Linked DNA regions of Homo sapiens: region 2 is linked to region 1. Evidence: promoter capture Hi-C in human tissues and cell types (Jung and others, 2019). All regions are on one chromosome and are shown on one strand. Each heading gives the region's core, a stretch centred on a gene start or on the middle of the fragment in contact. The rest is flanking DNA. Distances are from core to core; before and after follow the strand shown. Region 1 holds the start of ZFAND5 (zinc finger AN1-type containing 5). Region 2 has its middle 76 kb from the start of ANXA1.

Region 1 (5,044 bases), core at 1,052-3,551:
GCTTCTATTTATATCTCAAAGCCTGCCAACTCCTACACAACCCCAAGAACTAAGGATGCAGCGTTCATATATCTAACATAAGAAAACAAAAAAAGGGCTGCTAGTTTTTTCCTAATGTAGGAAAAACTACAGAACAATCTCAATCTAGAAGATGAAAGCATAGTCAAAGCTAAAATGGTCAAGGTTGTTGATAAAAAACTAAGCACAGTGGAGACAGTGTAAAAAAGAATCCTCATTTAGTGAGGATTTAGGGGATGAAGTGGGGGATGTGTGTTCCCATTAGGTATTGCATTCCCCTTGTATTTTAGAAAAAAATACCATTACTATTTATTGCCTTTAAAGTAATTAGCAACTTGAGCATGCACGTGTCAGCTCTATCAGGTATAGCTAGAATGCAGATTTTATAAAGTTTATGGCTTCCTCTAACTTACAGCTTAAAAAAACACCCGAGTGTAACTGAACAATTCTCCAATTCCAATTCTGAACAAAGAGCTTTTACACCTATGGAATACAGTTCTTTCAGGTGCACATGATGTGATGAGATGGCATGAATTCCCACTCACCTGGGAATGGAGACCTGAGTTCAAGTCTCTAGTCTGCCACTAAGTCAGTGACCTTGGGCAAGTCCTTACTTTCCAGATTTCAGTTCCCTCTTTGCCAAATGGAGTAGAATTGACTTTTAAAGGCTCCTTTTCAGGGCCTGGGAGATAGAAAACAGGAGACAACTACAAAGAATCCTTAATTTTTTAGGGGGGTGTGGGGAAACATTTTAACAAAAAACTTCAAAGATAAAATTGCAGTATTTTCACCAACTGAGTTCTGAAAGCCTACTCTTTAAAAAAAATCCTAAAAATAAGGAATAAAATACATTCGTTTATGTTTTTAGAAGTCTGTATCTAAATCCCAGGTTTAAGAACGGGGATGTGTGACCTATATGTTCCTTTATCTTGGTATCTCCTTAGATGCTATCCCTTAGGAGACACTCAATCAATAAAGATAATCCGACCCTTCCCCGAAAACACACCTCCACGGAGTGCGTGGAAAGCGAGCAAAAAATTTCACATTCATCAGCCTAAATGCACCAAACAAAGGAGGTGTTCCATTTCCTCCATGAAAACGGATCTCAGGATAAAAACGCAGCGACGTCGAGAAGCCCAAAAGACGACGCCGAGAACCCCCGGCCCCATGTTCCAATGGATTTTGGAACAAGTTCGGGTCCCACTGATACCCCATCCCCCTCTAAGCAAAGGCCTCACTCAATAAAGCCCAACAGGGCCCTCTCCGAAAACCACTGAGTCATGCAGAACAGCAGCTCAGCAGGCCCGGCCAGCCCTTCGCCTGCAGGCCCCACGCGGATCCCCGACCCCCGACCCCCGACCCCGAACGGCTCCTCTTAGGGGAGAGCTAGGGGGGGCTGCAACGGGCAGGGGGCGCGGCCGCCGCCTCGGCCTCTTTGTTTCTCTGGGTCGTGGTGCCCACGCCGGGCGCCGCCGCGGAGGCGAGCGGCCTAGAGGCCGGCCCCGCAGAGGCGGCACGCCGTGCATTGTTTCCCGACCGTGCTGTGGAGCGAGCCAGGGACGCCGGGAGCCAGGTCTCGGGCCACGACGACAGGATGACGCCTCCGTCTTTGTGCTTCCTGGGCTGGCGGGCGGGCTCCCCTCCCCCGGACGCCGCCATCCGCGGCCTGCTCCGGCTTCGCCATTGGCCCGCGGCGCCCCGGTCCCTTCACTCCCGCCCCCGGCCCGGCAACAAGGAGCCCGGCTCCCACCCGCAGCCCCGTATCACTCACCCTGCAGGGTCCCAAATGCGAAAGCCGGGTTCGCGCGCGAAGCCGGCACGATGAGGCCGGGCCGAGGCCTCCGGGAAGGCTGAGCCGGGCGCCCTGGTGCCGCCGCCGCGGGCCGGGAGCGGGTCGGAGCAGCAGGCGGAGGTGGCGCCGCCGCCGCCGCGGGGTCTTCCTTTGTTCCTGCAGCAGCGTCGAGCGTGGCCGGGACACGCCGGAGCTCGGGAAGTGGGAGGAGGGAAGCGAGGGGGGGCCGAGGAGGAGGTGGAGGGAGGACCGGCGGCCGCAGCGGCTAACGCTGCTCGAGGCGCTCGCCTGTCGTCGCCTCACGCCTCCACAGGCCGCAGGTTGGGCGGACGAGGAGGGCGAGCGGACCGCGCGCCGCGAGGCCTGGGGCCGTAAGGGCCCGCTGATGGCGCTCTTCGCCGCTCCTGCCACCGCCGGGGAAGCTGCGCGGCTCCCGGGAGCGAGCGAGCCCGCGTAGGAGATGCACACAGCTCCGCGTCCCGGCCGACTAACGCACTCGCCGCCCGGCGCCCGGGCTGTGAGGGAAAAGAGGGGGAGGGGGCGGGACCCGTGCGTCAGCGAAAACCCCGGCGGCGGCGGCGGCGGCGGGGAGCGCGGTGACGTCGCGGGCCCAAGGCCACGCCCCCGGTGCCCTGTCAGTAGGTCCAGGAGGCGGGGCCGAGACGGGTTGCTGTGCCTTCTCGCGGAGCCCAGCCACTGGCCTGGCAGTCGGCCCCTAGGGTGGAGCTGGGAAGAGCGAGTCCTGTGGAGGATGCGTTTCTATTTTTAACCCAATTGTCCGCCCTCAGCCTCCCTCCTTCGGATTTTCTCATTCAAACCCGTTTTTCGCCATCCTAGTTCTCACGCTTTGTCTCCAGCCCTGGGCAGACATTCCCTCCCCCAAGAATCGTAAGGATTCACCCCCAGAAAAGGAAAAGAATTGCCTTATGGCTTCGAGGTCTTTTCTGTTTATGAAACCTCCTCACTCCCCACACCCATTTTGAGCTCCGAAGTCCAGCCCGAGCGTGGCCCTGACGCAGCTGGCGGCGTGCGTTCGCTCGCCCAAGGTCACGGGTGGTTGTGCGGAGTGAGGAAACGCGCGGCCGCCCAGGGCTGCCAATGCCCCGGCGGCGCTGTTCTGAACAAACTGTTTTGGCCAGCCTGTGAAATCCCTGGAAATTGACGATTCCAGCAAAGCGTCGTGAACTGGGAAAGCACCAAATGTTCTACTCAAAAGCCGCGAAGGGACAAAACAAGCTAGACCCGAGGCCCAGATGAAGCGGGAGGAGGAGGCTTGCGAGAGGAAGTTCAAGGGGGGAGGTACTAGGCGGGCAGTTCAGGCACGAGGCACAGGTCCCCCATGGGTGAAAGGATGACTTTACCCGGAACACTGGGAACCTTTTCAGAGCACAAACAAAAAACATTTTCAACTGACCGCTCCAAGTGAATTTCAGTTCAACTCAAAATAACAAAATTACTAAGTCGGAAAGGACTTCTGAAATTTTCTAGTAAACAACGGTCTAACGAATACATAGAAATGATGTTTAGGGTTTATATTAGCCACATATAGAATGGAGAAGAGGTCCCTTCAGTGTTTCTCAAAGTTGGTAATCAGAAAAAAAATCACCTGGGGTGATTAAAGATTCCTACGCATCTCCCCTGGATATGGTTTTGGTTGTTCCGGGGTGGGAGCGGGGGTGGGGGGGGGCCCATATTGCGCTTCAGGTGGTCCTTATTTATAATCTGTATTTGGGGGAATGCTATACTGATAGCTTGAGCCACCACTGCCAAATCAAACAGTTCTCCGCCACAGTTAGCAAAGTACCTGGAGCATAACAACCTTTTGTTTTGTTTTTTAACAAATTCGGGTTTATTACTGTGATCAATTAATGTATTAGAGATTTAAGTAGTTTGGGTCACTGGTCCCACGACCACTGCAATTTATTTCCTTAAATTAGCAGATGAATTAGTAAAAAAAAAAAAAAAATAGCAGCTACCATTTACAGGCCATTTTCAGTGCCAACTATTTTCCATTTAGGGTCTCATTTTATCCTCACAGCAATTCACTGAGATAGGTACTATTATCATGTCCCTTTCTACAGATAAAGAAACAATGACTAAAAAGGCTTGCCCAGGGCACTGAAGGGCAGGGAGGCAATGGAGGTGATTATTATTGAGAACAAAAATAACTTGAATTTTAACTTGAATTTTTTTCTTTCTCTAGAATTGGAGTTATAGTGAGTGAAACAAGATAATTCCTGAAGAAGCATACTTTAAAAAAAGTCTAAGGGTAATGAGGCAAGCTCATTATTGAATAGTGTATTCCATAATATTATGTCACCTTCTGATAATTCATCTTCTCTATCACCCATTTATAATTTTCTCTGAGACTGTTTCAATCAAGAATGTTGCAGGTATTGGACCTAAACATACCAAGATTCCTTTTTAGCAGCTATTTTCTAGTGGTTCTCAAAATGTGGTCTCCAGACTACCTGGGAACTTATTAGAAATACAGATTCTCAGGCCCCAGCACCAAACCTGTGGAGTCACAAACTGGGGGTTAGCACAGCCGTCTGTGGCTTAATAAGTCCTCCAGGTGATTCTGATGCATACACAAGTTTGAAAACTATTGACTTAACCCTACCATGGCATCAGGTGACCCCTCTTTTTTTCAGATGGCTCACACCATGTGAAAGGGAAAAGTTTAAAAAAAAAAAGTCTCATATTACTGGTGTAACAGATTAAGGGATATACTTCTAAGAAGGTTTTTGTTTTATTTTTGTTTTCTTATATTTTAAATTTTCACTTGCACTCCAAAGACAAACTGAATTGCTAAACACAGAATATATAAGAGAATGCTTCTAATATAACATGCCAAAGGGCTTTGCTCTATAGTCATTAGGGAAGGTCAACTTTGGCCTGAAACCAACCTCTGTAAAAAAGATAATGAGTAGCCAGTCGTGGTGGCTCACACCTGTAATCCCAGCACTTTGGGAGGCCATGGGGGGTGGATCATGAGATCAAGAGACTGAAACCGTCCTGACCAACATGGTGAAACCCTGTCTCTACTAAAAAATATACAAAAATTAGCTGGGCATGTTGGTGCGTGCCTGTAGTCCCAGCTACTCGGGAGACTGAGGCAGGAGAATCACTTGAACCCAGGAGACAGAGGTTGCAGTGAGCAGAGATTATGCCACTGCACTCTAGCCTGGTGACAAAATGAGATTCCGTCTCAAAAACAAAACAAACAAACAA
Region 2 (5,044 bases), core at 1,879-4,378, 710 kb after region 1:
ACATAATGGAATCAAGTACATGAAAACTATTATTTGAAGCAGGTATAATATTAGCCTTTGGCTTTGAGATAAGAACCAAAGATGTTGTTTTTCCTAGGCTATTGGACAACATATATATGAAGTCCATTATCCTATAAATAGAAAGTTGCTGTTTGCATTTTAGTTATAAATTTTTATAAATGATTTCCTCTAAGGAAAATTAACTTGCTCACTTCTCCTACTTATTGCTTCCAGCTCTGTACTACACACACACACATCTGTGTTGGGAATCTTTTTATTAAAATATAACATACATACAGAAAAGCATACAAAACATAACTATATAGCTTGATGAATTTTTACAAGCTGAGAACTACCAGCATCCCAGAACCCCCTGTCCTCTGATTCCCCTTACAGTCTCTGGTTTCTGTGCTCCAAAGACAGCCATTATCCTGACCTCCAATGCCCATAGTTTAGCTTGTTTTTTAATTGTATATAAAGGGAAGTAAACAACACATGCTGTTTGTGCCTGACTTCTTTTGTGCCACACTGCATTTGAAGATTCGTCCATGTTGTGTTTGCAAGACCTGTTTCCATGTTGCATAGTTGCACTTCATTTATTCTCATTGTTGTAGAGTGTTCCGTTAGGTGAATATAGCAGTTTATGAGTTTGTTCTGCTACTAGTAATCACTTAGTTTCTAGTTTGGTTCTGTTATGAATAGTGCTGCTTGGGCATTCTTGTGCACATTTTTTGGTGAACATTCTTTGGTACACATTTCTGTTGACCATATAAACCTAAGACTGGAACCGCTGAGTCACGAACATTCATTTGTTTAATTTTTGAACTGCCAGCTAGTTTTTCAGCGTTGTTGTACCAATTTACACTCCTACCAGTGCCATAAAAGAGCTCTCTGGTTGTTCCACACCTTCTTCAACATGTGATATTTTCTGTCTTTCCCATTTTAGCCACTTTGATGGAAAACATATCCTTATTAAAGACACAGATCATGAAAAACATCCCTGACCTGATACCTTAAGTGAACTCAATTTTGGCAATGTTAGCTAGTTTATTCTTTCTTAATGACATGCATCTGGGACAGATTGAGTGCATTCATCCACTGAAGTCCTTCAAAAGTTAATGATCTCCCATTCTTCCCCACCTCCTACCAAATACAAATGATATTAGCTCACAGTTACCATGGCCCCCTGAGAAAGCTGTTATACCAGTACTTCTTTTTCATAGTTTCTTTCAGTAGAGATGCTATGGGATTTTCTCCATTAATCAGATCAAACCCTACATTTAAAATACATTTCAGTTATTACAATGTCTACATTTTGTTCATAATTTAAGAGTCATCTAAGAGTAGTGACTTATGTTTATCTTGTGGCATGCCACTTTTATGTTTTCCAGAATCCTATTTTTCATTGCCATGATTGGACTGAAAAACAGGATGTTTTTTTCTATCGACTCACATTTCTAAAATTCCTTCTTGGTCAAAAGTGCAAGTCTGTTGACCCTTTCAACTTTTGTTTGAAAGGGACATTTTTGAGTTCTTATTAATTATTTTTCATTGCCTTTGTGTTTCTTTTGCTCTGTTTTACTCTGTATCTTTTCGAATGAGTACCATTCTGCTTTTTATCTACTTATTTTTAAAATAAAGAATTGGAGTGATTTTTCATGCTTTTCTAGAAGTATCATTTCATTAGAAAGATAATTCTAGACAATAAAAGCTTGAGTGCTAATTGTAAAATAGTTTTATTGATAAAATTTGTAATTTCTCTTTCTGTTGCTTATACAGTTTGATAATCCTATGAATTCTACAGAAGGAATTCACATGTAATGATCCTTTAATAACTAGTGCCCGAGAAAAATAAACTTATTCTACAATTAATTTAATTTTCAACACTTTAAATATCTTTAAATTTGTTTCTTCGTTTTGTTTCTGGTATCTTTTGCCTTGCAGAAATATGTAACTTTAAAAGAGCCAAATATATCTAGCTTTTCCTTTATGGTTTCTGTGATTTCTGTCATACTTGGGAATATCTTTCCCATCTCAAATTTACACAAGTAAACTTCTAAATTTTCTTTCAATATTTTTCTTAGAGCAAGGATTCATTTTTCTTCTACATGGATAATCAAACATACAAGCATCGTTTATTAAATTAGACATTCTCACTAAGTTCAATTAAAATCCTATAACTACTAAATCTTTCTATGGATGCTCAGGCATATTTGACTAATGTGTTTACCTATTCCTGTGCTAAAATTATACACTTACCTTTGATTACAGTTACTCCATAGTTATTTTAGTATCTGGAAGTCTCCTACTTTGCCTTCTTGTTATTATTCAGTATTCATAAATTTCTTGACTATTTCTAGAGATATATTTTTTCACATACATTCTAGAATCACTTTATATTGTTCAACAGAAAAGCTTATTAAGATTGTAATTTAAGTTGCATAACATTTCTATAATAATATTAGAAGTAGTGACATTTCTATAATAGTAGTATCATTAGGAATATTTTATGTACTTCATTTGGATTTTATAAATTAACTTTTATATAAATCTTATGCTACTCTTGCTATATTTAAGTCTAAGAATTTTCACTTTTAGTCCCTATTATAGATGAATCTTTCTTTTTTTTCTTTTGCTTCAACCTTGCTATTGACAGAGAAAAAGTTACTGATTTTCTTAAGGTATACAAAGTTAATTCTAAGGCTTTTCAAGAGCTACTGGAAAGAGACGGAGACATCTTTATTCCTGGAAGAGAGATTTTGGCAAACATCCTGTCATGAGGAATCTGAGAATCACACAACATGAAGGAAAGTAGAATCTAAGGATGGAGATATGGCAGGTTCTGGAGCTATTATTTGAACTCCTAGAATAAGCCATATTTGAAACCATTACCAGTTATCCTTTACATTATTCCCTATGTTCATTTAATTTACGTAGGTTTAGGCCAGGAAGAGTGAGTGGCCCATGCTTGTAATCCCAGCACTTTGGGAGGCTGAGGTGGGCAGATCACCTGAGGTCAGGAGTTCAAGACTGGCCTGGCAAACATGGTGAAACCCCATCTCTACAAAAAAAAAAAAAATTAGCTGGGTGTGGCGGTATGTGCCTATAATACCAGCTACTCAGGAGGCTGAGGCAGGAGAATCACTTGAACCTGGAAGGCAGAGATTGCAGTGAGCCGAGATCGTACCATTGCACTCCAGCCTAGGCAACAAGAGCAAAACTCCATCTCAAAGAAAAAAAAAAATTAAGTTGGTTTAAATAGGTCTTATTCTTCATTGTTTACCAAATCAGATGGTGTGGAAATTTGAATTTGGCTTCCCCAGATAATTCTTATGCTAGTAATCTTCAGAAAAAATACCAGGATCAATACACTCTATTACTATCATGAAAATATAATGAAAAATAATTTAATGGTATAGAGTTGACCATAGGAGAGTTGCTTCAATGTTATCACAGATGTATAGGATAAAGCTGAAATTGCTTCATTAAAGAGCTGAATTTTAATAGTTACTGATATAATAAAAGTATAGGAGCCTCTAAATACAAAACTATAAAAATGAAATGAAGTAATTGTGTGAAAGGAAGATGAAGAACATTTATTCTATTGCTTGCGAAATATAAATATATCAAATTTATTTATATATCAAATTTACATAATATGGATTTGATATATTTATATTTCTCTTCAAATGGAGAACTTAGAAATTCACTAGGCAATCATTACTTTATTCAAGGCAATTTTATGAATTAAACAAGATGCTAATTATACTATCAATAGCATAACTGTGCTTTTTGACTCAAAGAAAATATAACTTGAACCCACAATGATGTGAAGTTTCTTCTATATAGATCTTTGTTTATCCTGCTGATTTGTTTCCTCATTATTGGCTTCTTAAGAAATCGTTGCTCAACTCTGATTTTGTGTTTCAGCTTTGAGTCACATTGAGACCAATGAACATCTTTCAAGTATTTGATTATATTTGTGATTATATGTAGGGAACTTCTTTTCTTCCTGTTGAAAAATGATTGGGACTCAAATAACAGTAGTACTGACCATGTATCACTCAGTGTGCCATAACATAAATTCTGCATCATTGGTCAATTCATTTATTCAATCTTTTATTTCACTCCACACCCATATGGGGTGACTATGATGCAGACATGTTTATATACACAGCAGAAACATCACTGGAAAAAAACAGACAAAAGTTCTTGCTCTCATGGAACTTAGATTCTGACAAAGAAAGATATCAAATAAACCTTAAACAAATATAAATACACTACAGATATATAAATTATGTAAAGTGGTGGTAAGTGCTGTGAAGTAATGTGTAGTAGAGTAGGGGGGATAGAGAATGATAGTGGAGAAGGGGAAGGATGCTCTTTCATATGAGAGTCAGGAAAATCTCTGATAAGGTGACATCTATTCATGGAGTTGTAGTGAAGGAGAAATCAAAATGGATATCTAAGGGAAACACCTTCCAGGCAAGTAAGACCCTGAGACAAGAATATTCTAAGTATATTCAAGGAATAGCAAGAAGGTCTAAAGGGCAGGATATGATATTCATTTTAAAAGTTTGCTCTGTTTGCATATGAGAATAGATTGTAGAAAGGCAAGTGTAAAAGGCTATTACACACTTGCAAGATGTTTACTGAGAGATGACATTCAGTTTAGTTTGCTGGCATGGATCAGGATTTAGAAAAGAGAATGAACCTGGAGGGACAATTTGAAGATATTCAGAATGACTCTGCAGATTTTTCTTGAGTAGCTAGAACTATATGAAGATCAGGTGTGTGTGTGTGGGTGTGGGTGTTTGCATGTGTGTGTGTGTGTGTGTGTGAGAGAGTGTGTGTTGAAAAGGGGTAGACTAAAATAAATCAAAGTCCAGTTTCAGATAGCAGAAATTTAAGATGGCAACTTGACAGTAGATGTAAGCCAAAAAATGTATAAGTCAGGTGTATCCAGGAGATGTTGGGACTGAAGATATAATTTTAGGAATTTTTTAAGCATATAGTTGGTATTTAAATACTTGGAATCAGATGA

Evidence for each region. The method cuts DNA at HindIII sites, captures the fragments that hold promoters and counts their contacts. A contact is called where the count stands out against the background at its distance.
Region 2: a fragment that was not itself captured here is called in contact with the fragment with the promoter of ZFAND5 in region 1 in 1 of the 25 tissues and cell types used here (dorsolateral prefrontal cortex).

What each region holds. Positions count from the first base shown.
Region 1 is chr9:72,362,907-72,367,950 of GRCh38, forward strand. It overlaps ZFAND5 (zinc finger AN1-type containing 5), which reads right to left and starts at 2,302. Exons shown (of 7, transcript NM_001102420.3): 1 at 1,790-2,302; 2 at 564-700. RefSeq lists enhancers at 1,305-2,008, 2,009-2,713 and silencers at 1,321-2,150, 2,161-2,540. The HindIII fragment of the contact is 11,173 bases long and covers 1-5,044 here.
Region 2 is chr9:73,073,048-73,078,091 of GRCh38, forward strand. No RefSeq gene overlaps it. Among named protein-coding and RNA genes, the nearest start is that of ANXA1, 76 kb to the right of the region's middle. The HindIII fragment of the contact is 7,031 bases long and covers 1-5,044 here.